Linked DNA regions of Homo sapiens: region 2 is linked to region 1. Evidence: promoter capture Hi-C in human tissues and cell types (Jung and others, 2019). All regions are on one chromosome and are shown on one strand. The core of a region is centred on a gene start or on the middle of the fragment in contact, and the rest is flanking DNA. Distances in the headings are between cores, read along the strand shown. Region 1 holds the start of CYP2A6 (cytochrome P450 family 2 subfamily A member 6). Region 2 has its middle 45 kb from the start of CYP2B6.

The links. The method cuts DNA at HindIII sites, captures the fragments that hold promoters and counts their contacts. A contact is called where the count stands out against the background at its distance.
Region 2: a contact is called between a fragment that was not itself captured here and the fragment with the promoter of CYP2A6 in region 1, in 2 of the 25 tissues and cell types used here (liver and mesendoderm cells).

The regions. Positions count from the first base shown.
Region 1 is chr19:40,847,769-40,854,789 of GRCh38, reverse strand. CYP2A6 (cytochrome P450 family 2 subfamily A member 6) reads left to right here and starts at 4,343. Exons shown (of 9, transcript NM_000762.6): 1 at 4,343-4,543; 2 at 4,810-4,972; 3 at 6,027-6,176; 4 at 6,411-6,571. The coding sequence starts at 4,364. RefSeq lists enhancers at 1,917-1,951, 3,147-3,175, 5,985-6,484 and promoters at 4,228-4,364, 3,345-4,364. The HindIII fragment of the contact is 10,166 bases long and covers 741-7,021 here.
Region 2 is chr19:40,943,236-40,950,256 of GRCh38, reverse strand. It overlaps the pseudogene CYP2B7P. Among named protein-coding and RNA genes, the nearest start is that of CYP2B6, 45 kb to the left of the region's middle. The HindIII fragment of the contact is 3,398 bases long and covers 1,720-5,117 here.

The sequences.
Region 1 (7,021 bases), core at 3,094-5,593:
CCATACTAAGACTCTACACTCATTAGCTGTGAAATGCAGAAGCAAGTCACTTATGACCGGCTTTGGGGGAACTTATCTAACTCATTTGCAAAATGGAGATGATAAAGCTAACCTCAGTCTTGCAATCAGGAGTTCAATTAAGATTATGCTCATAAAAAGCTTCCTGCAGTTCTGGGGGTTTTTTCAAGCAGATAAATGGAGCTGGGATAGGACTGTTTTAATCCAAACACAGATGAGCACAGGAAAATATCACATGTTCACGTGTATGCAACATGGCCCACAAGTCTGCACACACACACCAGAATGAACACATGAAAACATCCACGTACTGGCCGGGCACGGTGGCTCACACCTGTAATCCCAGCACTTTGGGAGTCCGAGGCGGGCGGATCATGAGGTCAGGAGATCGAGACCATCCTGGCTAACATGGTGAAACCCCATCTCTACTAAAAATACAAAAAATTAGCCGGGCATGGTGGCAGGCACCTGTAGCCCCAGCCACTCAGCAGGCTGAGGCAGATGAATGGTGTAAACCTGGGAGGCAGAGGTTCCAGCCGAGACCATGCCACTGCCCCCCAGCGTGGGGACAGAGCAAGACTCTGTCTCAAAAAAAAAAACAAAGAAAAAAACATCCACATACTTATATGTAGTCACCCAATTGTGAATGTATACACACAAATATGAATATGCAGCATTCATCTTGTTCTACACAGAAATACACATCGTAGACACCCCTAAATCATGTGTGCACACATGCTGTATGCAGAGACAGACACAAAGATTGGCAAGCATTGAGAAACAGTGCCACACCCTGTCAGGCACACACACACATGTGCATGTGCAGACATAAGTTGGAATGGATACCCATTATCAAGCACAAACATACACACCACAAAGCCTGGTGCACACATAAATTCATGTATCAACATGAACATGCTGAAACATACATACACGTAGACACTAAAAGCATGCACCCAGAATGACACACACACAGTTGTATAAATGAGGATAAACATGGCAGAGGCATCCAGGAGAACCCACTGGACAAAATGGCACAAAACACAAAGATGCATGAGCACACAGGGTGATTGAGGGGAACACTGACTTGCAGGGAAGGAGAAAGAGAAAGATAGAAAGATGGGATCCAAGACAAGCATAGACAGACAGGTGGGCAAAGTCCTGTGCAGGGCTCCAGGGCCAACCAGAATAACCTGAGAGTCTAATGCTGGCCTGTCCTTCCGCAGATACTGCCTAACTCAGCACCACACTCCAGGAGGCCATGAAGGATTAATTTCCTATTCACAGCTCCATGGGGTAAAGCTTGGCTGTGCTGAGGAAGGGATGGCGAAGGAGGTTCCCAAAGACTCTGTCCCTTTCCTCCTTCCCAAAGGAAAAGATTTGTGAGCTTTAGACTAGAGAATGTAAAAGCAAGGAATGTGCTTAGGGAACATCTCATCCATCCGCTTCATCCTACAGATTAAAGAGAACAACTACCATTCATTGAGCACTTACTGCCATGTACCTCATCTGCATTAACACTTATACTTCTCCCCTAAATAGCCAAAGAGGTAGGAGCTGTTCTTGGCTCCATAAGACTCAGAGAGATGAAGTCAGCTGTTCAAAGCCACACAACAAAGAAAGGATAAGGTTAGGATTCCAATCCAGGCCTTAATCATTGCACCATCCATTCAGAAAGGGAAACTGAGGCCCAGCAAAGGAAAGGGATCTTCCTGGGCTCGCCACTAACTCACTCTGAAAGCCTGTTCCCAAGACACTGCCCACTGGGACAAGTCCCTCCCACATGATTTCAGACACCATTCTCTCACTCCATGCTCTAGGGTAATCAACAAGTCCAAAATTCATTGACCTCTATGTCCACAAATACTAGAGTTCTCCCAACCTGTCTCTCCCCATCCCCTCCCTGGCCAGGTCATGGCAACCTGCTGATCACTCAGTGCACTTCCTAGTGCCAACCCCAGTGAGAAACAAACTCCCCAGATTTCTGTCTCCCACCTTTTTAAGAAACACGAAGGAAAAGGAGGAGCCAGGCCCAGGTGCAGACTGGTGAACAGGATTAGAGCGATTGATATCTGCCAAGCTGGTGCTAATCTTCCTTCCCACCTCTTCCCCTCCAAAATCAACAAACAACTTTCCTCTCTCTGCCTTGTTCTCTGACCTTTGTTCCCTCCACACAGGTCTCAGAGCTCAGCATCCTAGAACAGTTTGAGCAAGATGTCAGTCCTGGGGGTGCCAACCTCACCCACCTCCACTTGTCCAAAGTTGGTGACCCAGAGGACAGGTGCAACCCTAAATGGTCCAACCACCACAGCCTGTCCTGTGGCCATCTGGGGCCCCTCTCAGGGTCTGGCTGAGGCTCATCTCAGACCCACATAGGACCAATATCAGCACCTGCCTCATGCTCATGTCACAGCCCACTGGGACCAACCTCAGACCCTATATGGTGCCACCCTTACGCCCTCCTGAAGCAGGACACTCTTATGCCCTCAATGACACCTGAGACAACACACAGAGCCCTCTTGGCACCAAACATGACTTCAATATTCTCCTGGTGTCAAGTTCAGTGCCAACTTGTTTCCCATCCTCGCATACACCTGGGGGCAGTCCCAAAGCCAACACGATGCCTTTCCCTCCCTGGCCATACCTGATGCTGATATCAGAACCCACCAATGTCATCAGTGTGTCCACTGCTGATGCCAGTCCCAGCACTCACCTCCTGCTAAGGCTGGCCTGCACTTGACTCCCAGGGTGATCTAGGCCAGTCAATGAAGGGGGGTGAGGAGAAAGTTCACATCCCAGCTCCCTCACTTACTCCCTGTGTGACCTCACTCAAGAGGATTTATGGAGTCTAGATCTGCTCATCTTCAAAATGAGGATGATCATGATGAACCAACCTCATTGTTACAAAGATTCAACCAGATCATACACACCTAGACTTAATCTTCCCGTATACGACCATGCTCACCAAAGGGTAACTGTCCTGTTTACTAAGGAAGAATTTCCCTGAGGGAAGGACAGGAGGGCTACTCATCCCTTCTCCACTCACACCCACCCCAGGATCTGCCTCTGTGCCTAATACTGGAGTTTACCCCAATCTCTTCTGCCACTGTTCCCTCTGCCTGCTAATAGTAGTAGCCCCTGACAAAGCAGGAATCATTCTTAAAGGAGACTTAACTCACCCTCGAATGTGATCTTCTCTTCCCAAACACTCCCTTTCCACTGGCAGGAAAACCAAATCCAGAAAGGGGAACTAAGTACACAGAGCAGGAGAGATGGGAGTTCAGGGCCACTCACACATGTCCCCTGCCCACTGTCTGTTTTCTGTCCTCTGTAGATCTTTATATAAAATGAGAAACATAAACAACAATCATAATATTAATAGGGATGATACAATCAATCTAGTGGGTTTCCCTGAGGATCTGGGTTGGAAACCAGCGGACAACCCTTGGGACACTTGAGATTTTTCCACCATTTGGGGGTTGTTATTACTATTTCTCCAGACCTAGCCAATCCCTCTGCCAACCGCTAACTCCAGGTACTCTTCTCCAGGTGTGGGGAAAGTTCCCCTGAAATATGGCTCTGGTCTTCCTCCCCTTCCCAATCAGAGATGGGCAGTGGAGGTTCTATGGCACCCATCCTGGCCTCACTCTGAGGTTCCAATGAGGATTCTGGGCATCAAGAGACAGCTCTGGGCAAAAGCAAAATCAAGTCAGCCCCTGGACCCAGTGCTGGGCTGCTGGGCTTTCTGGGAGAACCCGCTGGGCTTGCTACACACTCCTCCTCCCAGAAACTCCACACCCACAGCCCTGGGTCTTCCTAGCCCCGAGACTTTCAAGTCCATATGCCTGGAATCCCCCTTCCTGAGACCCTTAACCCTGCATCCTCCACAACAGAAGACCCCTAAATGCACAGCCACACTTTGTCTTACCCTAATAAAACCCAGACCTTTGGATTCCTCTCCCCTGGAACCCCCAGATCCACAACTTTGGGGTGCATTCTCACTCTCAGACCCCAAATCCAAAGCCCAAGTGCTCCCCTATGCAAATATTCCAAACTCCTCAGTTCTACAGCTTATCTGTTGCCCCCTCCTAAATCCACAGCCCTGCGGCACCCCTCCTGAAGTACCACAGATTTAGTCTGGAGGCCCCCTCTCTGTTCAGCTGCCCTGGGGTCCCCTTATCCTCCCTTGCTGGCTGTGTCCCAAGCTAGGCAGGATTCATGGTGGGGCATGTAGTTGGGAGGTGAAATGAGGTAATTATGTAATCAGCCAAAGTCCATCCCTCTTTTTCAGGCAGTATAAAGGCAAACCACCCCAGCCGTCACCATCTATCATCCCACTACCACCATGCTGGCCTCAGGGATGCTTCTGGTGGCCTTGCTGGTCTGCCTGACTGTAATGGTCTTGATGTCTGTTTGGCAGCAGAGGAAGAGCAAGGGGAAGCTGCCTCCGGGACCCACCCCATTGCCCTTCATTGGAAACTACCTGCAGCTGAACACAGAGCAGATGTACAACTCCCTCATGAAGGTGTCCCAAGGCAGGGAGATGGGTGGCACGGGGTGGGGGCTGCCTAGTTGGCTGGGGCTTTGTGGCAGGGGGTTGACCAGTGTGGACCAGAGTCTTAGGAAATGGAGTTTTGGAGTTTCAGCATCAGAAAGACAGGATCTTGGGATGTCCAGCTCCCTGACTGTGAGAACCTGGGTGCGAAGCATCCCAGCACATGACATCTCGGTGCTGGGCCCCATTCAGAGTGGAGGCTTCTCCCTCTAACCACTCCCACCCACCTCCATCAGATCAGTGAGCGCTATGGCCCCGTGTTCACCATTCACTTGGGGCCCCGGCGGGTCGTGGTGCTGTGTGGACATGATGCCGTCAGGGAGGCTCTGGTGGACCAGGCTGAGGAGTTCAGCGGGCGAGGCGAGCAAGCCACCTTCGACTGGGTCTTCAAAGGCTATGGTGAGGGGGTGCCCAAGAGGGGGAAGGTGGCCAGGTGGACACGAAGGTCTCAGTGTTCCCAGCCTTCTCCCTGACTCTCCTGCCAACTGGAGGCTAAGGCAGAGTCCCCAGTCTGGTCTTCCCTCCCCATCTCCCTTCATTGTGGCCTCTCCATGTGTATCCCTCACCTGTCTCCAGCGTCCCTGTCCTGATTCCTCCCTGCCTCTCTCTGCCCCACCTCCTTATTCTCTCTCACTGGAGTCTCCTCTTTCCCCTCTCTCTCCATCTCTAAGGACATCCTGGGTTTCTGTTTTCCAGCCCTGGTTCTCTGTCTTCATTTGTCTTTTTGTCCCTCTTAGCTTCTGGGCTTCTCTGTGTTTCTCATCTCTCCGCATCCCTTTCTCACTTCTTCCTCTGTCTTAGGATTTCAGGGTATTCCTACTTCCACATCTTCAGCCTCCATCTCCTGGTAACAGTCTCTCTTCCTTCCAGACCCTCTCTGTTTCTATCTCAATATTTTTCTCTCTTCTCCAGCTCAGCTTAAGAATCTTTCACCATTTTTATTTCCTCCTCCCAGATCTCCCCATATCTCACTTCCCCTCCCTCCATCCTCTTCCTCCATCACTCTCTTTCTCTCCCCACTTCCTTCCCTTCCTCCATGGAGTGTCCCCTTATCCCTCTGTTTCTATGTGCATCTCTCTGTCTGGCCTTTCTGTTTCTTTTCTGATTGTCTTATTCTTTAAACCTGGTCTCTCTCTCTCTCTCTCTCTCTCTCTCTCTCTCTCTCTCTCTCCTCTCTCTCTTCTCTCTCTCTCTCCTCTCTCTCTTCTCTCTCTCTCTCTCTCTCTCTCCTCTCTCTCTTCTCTCTCTCTCTCTCTCTCTCTCTCTCTCTCTCTCTACCTCGACATCGTGTTTCTCTGACTGAGTTTGCAGCTCTGCTGGGCAATGGCGCTGAATCCATCTCTCTCCCACCCTACTCCCTCTCTCCTCCACCCTTGGGGAGCCCCTTGGAGCTGCTCCGCTCCTGCCCCTGCCGCCCCCTGGCCTGTCTCCATTCCCGCGTTCACCTCCCCAGGCGTGGTATTCAGCAACGGGGAGCGCGCCAAGCAGCTCCGGCGCTTCTCCATCGCCACCCTGCGGGACTTCGGGGTGGGCAAGCGAGGCATCGAGGAGCGCATCCAGGAGGAGGCGGGCTTCCTCATCGACGCCCTCCGGGGCACTGGCGGTGAGCAGGGGACCCCGAGTGCGGGGGCAGGAGAAGGAAAACACCCAGGACGAGGAACCCGCGCGCGTTCTGCCTGGGGATGGGGACTAGGTGGGGAAAGGCGCCCGCACTTCCAGCCCTGGAGTCTGGCGCTGGGAATTTGGCTCAACAAGGCCCTGCCTCCTGGAATTCTGACTCTCCTCAGACCTCTGAGTTGACTCTCTCCCCAACCCCCTTCTCCCGCCATACCCGCAGGCGCCAATATCGATCCCACCTTCTTCCTGAGCCGCACAGTCTCCAATGTCATCAGCTCCATTGTCTTTGGGGACCGCTTTGACTATAAGGACAAAGAGTTCCTGTCACTGTTGCGCATGATGCTAGGAATCTTCCAGTTCACGTCAACCTCCACGGGGCAGGTAACTGGCTGCAGCCCGGCCCGTGACGCCCCTACCACAACCTGCCAACTGCTCCCCTACCTGGAGACAGGTGCCCCAAACTCCCACCGCCCTCCAGACAGTGTCCCCTCAAAATCAGTCCCCGATATTGGACAACTGGACAGTTGCACCAGAACCCAGGATGGATGTCCAATACCCTGTCTCCAAGGACACCTGGATAGCTCAACAGATGCTCCCCAAAACAGAGCCTGCTGGCAGGATGCATACCCTCAGCTCAGCTCTCTCACCTGGGCACGTGTTCCCATCCCCAACTTACCGTAATTTCTAACAGATGCTCCCTACCCAGTTCTTCTGAATATTTTAACACCTGGACAAGTGACTGCGTCAACCGGCCTCCTGCATACCTGAACACCTGGTGCTGCAAAATCCAGCCCATCATAATCATTTCACATCTACACAAATGTCCCAGAT
Region 2 (7,021 bases), core at 2,169-4,668, 96 kb before region 1:
TGTAATCCCAGCTACTTGGAAGCTGAGGCAGGAGAATCTCTTGAACTTGGAAGGCGGAGGTTGCAGTGAACCAAAATCACGCCACAGCACTCCAGCCTGGGAGACAGAGCAAGGCTTAGTTTTAAAAAAAAAATCAAATATTGTGTGATTCTGTTTATAGGAAATATTCAGAATTGGTAAGTCCATAAGGACAAAAACCAGATTGACAGGGGCTGAGATGAAAAAGAGAATGGGGTATGGGGAGTGACAGCTTGATAGGTATGGGTTTTGTTGGGGGGAGATAATGAAAACATTTGGAACTAGGAGAATCACCTGACATCAGGAGTTCAAGACCACTGAACTCGAACCTGGGTGACAGAGTGAGACTCCGTCTCAGAAAAAAAGAAAATGTTTGGAACTAGATGGTGGTGGTTGTACAGCTTTGTGAATGAACCACACACCACTAAATTGTACACTTTAAAATGGCTAATTTTATTTTATGTGAATTTCATCTTAATTTTTAAAATTATATATATACATGGCCGGGCATGGTGACTCACACCTGTAATCCCAGCACTTTGGGAGGCTAAGGTGGGTGAATCACTTGAGTTCAGGAGTTTGAGATCAGCCTGGCCAACACGGTGAAACCCCATCTCTACTAAAAATACAAAAATTAGCCAGGCATGGTAGCACACACCTGTAATCCCAGCTACTAGGGAGGCTGAGGCAGGAGAATTTCTTGAACCCCGGGGGTGGAGGTTGCAGTGAGCCGAGATCACGCCACTGCACTCCAGCCTGGGCAACTGAGTGAGACTCTGTCTCAAAATATATATATATAATTTTGTATATTATAATTTTCAATAATCTCACTCCTCCACTCATTTGCACTGCGACCTCAGACAACTGGTGCCATGGAAGGGAAGGAAGCTGGCTTGCAGCAGGTCTCTCAGAGGCAGGAAGTTGCAGGGAGTCAGAGCCATTATCTACAGAGGTGGGGACACTGAATGACCCTGGAATCCTTTGACCCCCTTCCCTCAGCCCCTTCAGCGGGGCAGGAAGCAGATCTGGTATGTTGGGGGTATTTTGCCCACACCACACTCCTGGGGTGTCAGATCGATGTCTTCAGGAGCCACGGGGCTGGCCACGGAGAAGTTCTGGAGGATGGTGGTGAAGAAGAGGAACAATTCCGCACGGGCAATGCCTTCACCAAGACAAATCCGCTTCCCTGTGGGCACAGAAGGTCACCAGCATGGGCACAGGGCAGGTGCATACACTTCGCTCTGCCATGTCCCTAAGCCCAGACATGTATGTCCACTGCAAGAGATTTGCATAAGACTGGCCTTTAACCTACAATTCAGGGTGGACTTTTAGGAAGCTGCTCTGAAACCAGGTGCAAATCTTTGAATGGATGTGCCATGTTCATTTCTCTCTCTCTCGCTCTCGCTCTCGCTCTCACTCTCTCTCTCTCAATCTCTTTATTTATTTATTTATTTATTTATGTATTTATTTATTTATTTTTGAGATGGAATCTCTCTCGGTCACCCAGGCTGGAGCACAGCGGCGACATCTCGGCTCACTGCGACCTCTGCCTCTCAGGGTGTTGAAACGATTCTCATGCCTCAGCCTCCCAAGTAGATGGGATTACAGGCACCTGCCCCCACGCCTGGCTAATTTCTTGTATTTTTAGTAGACATGGGGTTTCACTATGTTGGCCAAGCTGGTCTCGAACTCCTGACCTCAGGTAATCCACCCACCTTGGCCTCCCAAAGTGCTGGGATTACAGGCGTGGGCCACCGCGCCCGGCGCCATGTTCATTTTTCTAGTAGAGAGTTTGTAGCTTCTGTTACAGTTCCAAAGGGTTTGGTGATCCCCACAGTGTATAATGACCCACTTCTGGTTGTGTGTGTGTGTGTGTGTACCTCTACATGTGTGTGAGCACATTTATGACAACATTCTTAGTGTTCACTTCTCATACGGGGAGAATGGCACCTCTCTCAAAGGGCTCTTCTGAGGTTAAAGGAGACAATTGTAAAAATTCTTAGAACAGCACTTGGCTTCTGCTAAGGAGCCTTAAGGTTTGGTTATCGCCTTGTGTTTGTTTCTGGGGGTATCTGTGGGGTATGTGTTTCTGGCCATGTGTCTGTGTCTGTGTCTCTAGGCTGTTTTCTGGTCTCAGCCTGAGATCCACAGGCTTCAAGAGCTCAGGGGGTAAAAAACCCAAATTGTATATAAATTGTGAATGGGACTGATGCATATGAGACAGGGAGGGTCTATGGCTTCCACCGATTCTCAGAGGTGCAAGGAACCCCCAGTAGGTTCTAAACCACAGATTGGGAGAAAAATGAGAACAAAGGGAGCTGGAAAAAGCTGAGGCAGAGACAAAGGGAGCCTTTCCCTTCACTTCAGTGTTTCATAATCTGCAAACCTTGGAAAGGCCATGTCAAGTGTGAGTTTTCAGGCATTCCCTATGCCTGCCAAGTTGTTGGACAAGTGTGTCTATGTGGAGGTGTCTGGAAATGGGTCCATGTCCCTTTGGCACATCCAGAAGTTGGGCAACATGAGCTTAGAAACAGGCAGGTCTCTGGGCCTGTTCTTCTGTAGCTCTTTGTGTGACCTAACATTTTCCACAACAGCCTGATGCTTATTATCTCCCTCTCATCACGCCCTCCCCATCTCTGGGGCCATCTGTTTGGACACCTTTCGAATTTCTTTGGCTGCAGTACCCTTTTGGCTTGGGTTATACCTTTCTTTCTGCCCCTGGCAGCCCTACTCCTGTCTTTTTCTCTGTCTATACCTGTCAGACACAGTTTTTCTTCTTTTCCTCTCCTTTTTTGGCTTTCTTCCATCTTGCTTAACCTCCTATCTCCATCTATTTGAATCTGATTGCTCCCCAATCTCTCTCTCTCTCCTTCTTTCTTTTCATCTCCCTCTAAAGATACCTTATTTGTCTCCTTCATTCTTTCTTCCTCTCTTCTTGTGTCACTCTCTCTTTTTCCTATCTCTTATTCTGTTTCTCTCCTTTCCCTCCTTCCTTCTCCCCTCCGCCTTCCTTTTCCTCCTCCCTCTCCTCTTATTCCTCCTCCTCCTCTTCTCCTTATGTGGCTCTCTCTGTGTGTGTCTCTCTCTCTTCCTCTCCGTATACTGCCTGATGTTCACCTGCTGTCTGTCCTTCTGCCACTGTCTCCCCATCTCTATCTCTCAGTGTGTTCCCTCTTTGTCCCCAACTATGTTTCTCAATCTTATTATCTTTGTTACTTATCTGTCTCTGTCCTTATTTCCCTACATCTCTGCCTCTCTTAAAACAAAATAGCAGGCCTGTCACAATGGCTCACGCTTGTAATCCCAGCACTTTGAGAGACTGAGGAAGGAATATCACCAGGTCAGAAGATCAGGACCATCCTGGCTAACATGGTGAAACCCCATCTCTACTAAAAACACAAAAAATTAGCCAGGCATGGTGGTACACACCTGTAGTCCCAGGTACCTGGGAGGCTGAGGCAGGAGAATCGCTTGAACCTGGGAGGCAGAGGTTGCAGTGACCTGAGATCATGACACTGCACTCCAGCCAGGGCAACAGAGCAAGACCCTGTCTGAAGAAAAAAAAAAAAAGAAACCTTAAGATAATGTCTCAGGCATGGTGGCTCACGCCTGTAATTCCAGCACTTTGGGAGGCTGAGGCGGGTGGATCGCGAGATCAGGAGATCAAGACTATTCTGGCTAACACGGTGAAACCCTGTCTCTACTAAAAAACACAAAAAATTAGCCGGGCATGGTGGCAGGTGCCTATACTCCCAGCTACTCAGGAGGCTGAGGCAGGAGGATGGCATGAACCCAGGAAGCAGAGCTTGCAGTGAGCTGAGATTGTGCCACTGCACTCCAGCCTGGGTGATAGAACGAGACGGTGTCTCAAAAAAGGAAAAAAAAAAAAAAACAAGACAGCAAAATTGAGAGAAGACATTGACCCTCAAGCCATCACCCCATGTGTTCCTAACTGTCATTGAAGATAAAATGTGGAAGGAGGTCACTGTACTGCACAAAACCAGGGGCTGGGCCAGGACCCTGGGTTGCTGAAGTCACTGATGAAACTCAAGACTAGGGATTTGTTTCTGGGGCCTTTCATGGATGGTGCGTGTTAAATTAAATTAAATTTGGCCTAAAGCAGCCTCCCTGCATAACAAACTGTAACGTAACTCAACATGTAAACAAACTGCAATGTAACTTGAGAGTATATTCTTGTAACAAGTAACCTTGGACAATCAGGGCAGCCAAGCTTCAGCCAGTCACAGGCTACAAGCTGCCCAGACATGCTCAGATAAGGCAAACACAGAGCTGTAACCAATCAGGCTGTTTCTGTACCTCAGTTCCTTTCCCTATGGATAAATAGTGCCTGATCACATTGCTGGGTGGAGCTCTCTGAACCTTTCCTGGTTCCGTGTGCTGCCCAATTCATGAATTGTTTCTTTGCTCAAATAGACTCTGCTAAGTTTAATTTGCCTAAAGTTTTTCTCTTAACCAGCCAAAGAGTGGAGGATGAGAACTGGGACAAGTCAGAGCACGTCAAGACCTTCTCCACCTCCCCAGTGCTAGACCATAAATCCAAACTCCTTCCACAGCCTTCAAGGTCCTGCCCAGCTGAGCCCTTTGTCTTATTCCCTTCCGCAATCTACACCCAAGGCTCACTGGACTTCCTATAGATTCTCAATGGTACCATCACATTTCCACCTTTAGCCTTTGCCCTTGCTGTTTCCTTTGCCTGGAACACACTTTGCAATCATTGATTGACGCCCACCCATGAACATCTCGGCTTGGAAGCCAGTTCCTCTGGTAAGCTTTTCCTTAATGACCCACCACAAGATTAGCTACTATTTCCTATTTTGTGCTCCCAAAGCTCCCTTTAGAGCACTTATCACAATTATGTCTAATTATAATAATAATTGCCCCGTGAGCATGTCCTTTGTGCCAGGCAGTTCCAAGCATGTTGCAGGCATTCATTCATTTCATGAGATGATTATTTTATTATTATTTGATGAATGTCCATCTTCCCTGCTGGACTTTAAATTTCCTGGGGCAGGAACCCTGTCTCCGTGTGACCTGTTTGATGCATTGTCTTCAGCCCCTAGTACAGCACTGGGCTTACAGCGGTGCTCAACAGATTTTTTTCTTTTTAAGAAAATGAATTCACTGAGGTTTAGAGATGTTAAAATACTTGCCCAAGTTCCTGCTTGCCCAGATGTGCCTTTGGGAATGTCATCTTCTTTCTCAAGCCTCCTTACAGGGTTGTAGTGAAGATGGAAGGGGATAAGGCAGGTGAAGCAATTGGAATATATTAAGTGCTCAATTAATAAGGACCTGTCATTTTTTTTCTCAAGTTGAGGATAGGACCTGCCCTCTGGTGTCTGGGAAAGAAACTGTGGGTCCAGCTTACCTAAGGAGAAGGGGATAAAAGCTTCATTCTTTTTCAGTGCCCCATTGGCATCCAGAAAGTGGTCAGGATTGAAGGCGTCTGGTTTTTCAAAGTAGTGTGGGTCACGGAGAGCAGTGCTCAGGATGAGAAATACTTCCGTGTCCTGAGGAAGGATCACAAGATCAAAAGATATTGCCATTCCCTGCCCACCCTCCACACACACAGCACAAAAAAGAAAAAGAAAAAAACAAAAACAAGGGGACTCAATTGAGAAGCTAACAAAAGGTTGAGTTTGGGGATTAAGAAAATCCAGGATGCCCACACAGGAGGGATGTGGGGGTGCAGCCAGTCTTACCTTGGGGATGGTGTACCCTCAGAAGCTGGTGTGTTGGGTGACAATGTGGGGCACACCCATGGGGAGAAGGTCAGCAAATCTCTGAATCTCACGGATGACTGCCTCTGTGTATGGCATTTTGGCTCGGTCATCAAGCGCTGGAGGGCGATGTGGGCCAACCACCTGTTCAATCTCCTTGTAGACTCTCTCTGCACAGAGAAGAAGATGAATGAATCTCATTTTAAAGAGGCATTTGAGGCCAGGCATGGTGGCTCACACCTGTAATCCCAGCATTTTGGGAGACTGAGGTGGGCAGGTTGCTTGAGTTCAGGAGTTCAAGATGAGCCTGGCCAACATGGCAAAATCCCATCTCTACTAAAAATACAAAAAATTAGCTGGGTGTGGTGGTGCAAGCCTGTAGTCCTAGCTACTCAGGAGGCTGAGGCAGGAGAATCGCTTGAACCCAGGAGGTGGAGGTTGCAGTGAGCTGAGATCATGCCACTGCACTCCAGCCTGGGTGACGGAGCAAGACTCTGTCTCAAAATTAAAAAAAAGAAAAAAGAAGGAAAGAAAATTTTTTAAAAAGAGACCTTTCAGCAGGGACACTACTTTCTATTGACCAATTAAAAACCTACAGTAAAGGCTTAGATCTTTGATACTCCTCAAAGCAATCAGCGTGGGGTGAGGAGAGCAGGAAGGAAGCAACAAGAATTCTCACTGCTTGAAATCTAATGACTATTATGGATCCTCTTCCCACATGCACAGGTACACACACACATATGCACACACATAACACGATTTTGCATGGAATTTCAGATTAAGAACTCCAGGCCACAAATCAAAACACCCTCTCTAAGATGAGTAGAAAATAAACTAATATTTATTGTGTGTATATTATAGGTGAGACACTATTCTTGGTCCTCAGGTATATAACAGTGTAATAGAACAATAGATGAATCCATGAACAACTGGATAAAAACATCAATCAATCAATCAATAGATCAATTCATGGAAGGAAAGATTGATGAAGAAATGAACAAACCAATAAATGGATGTATATATTTACTTACCAATTAATAGATGGATTGATTGATTAATTAATCACTAATGAATGGTCCATAGACAAAGAAATCAATGAACCCAATTAATGAATAATCACATGAATGGCTAGATTTATGGAAGAACAAGTGAATAAGTAAATTAGTGAAGTATGAGTAAATAAAGGAATAAATGAATGGCTGGATTGAATGATAAATAGATCAGAGGTGAATAAATGAGTGAATTATTGTGATAAATGAAGGAAA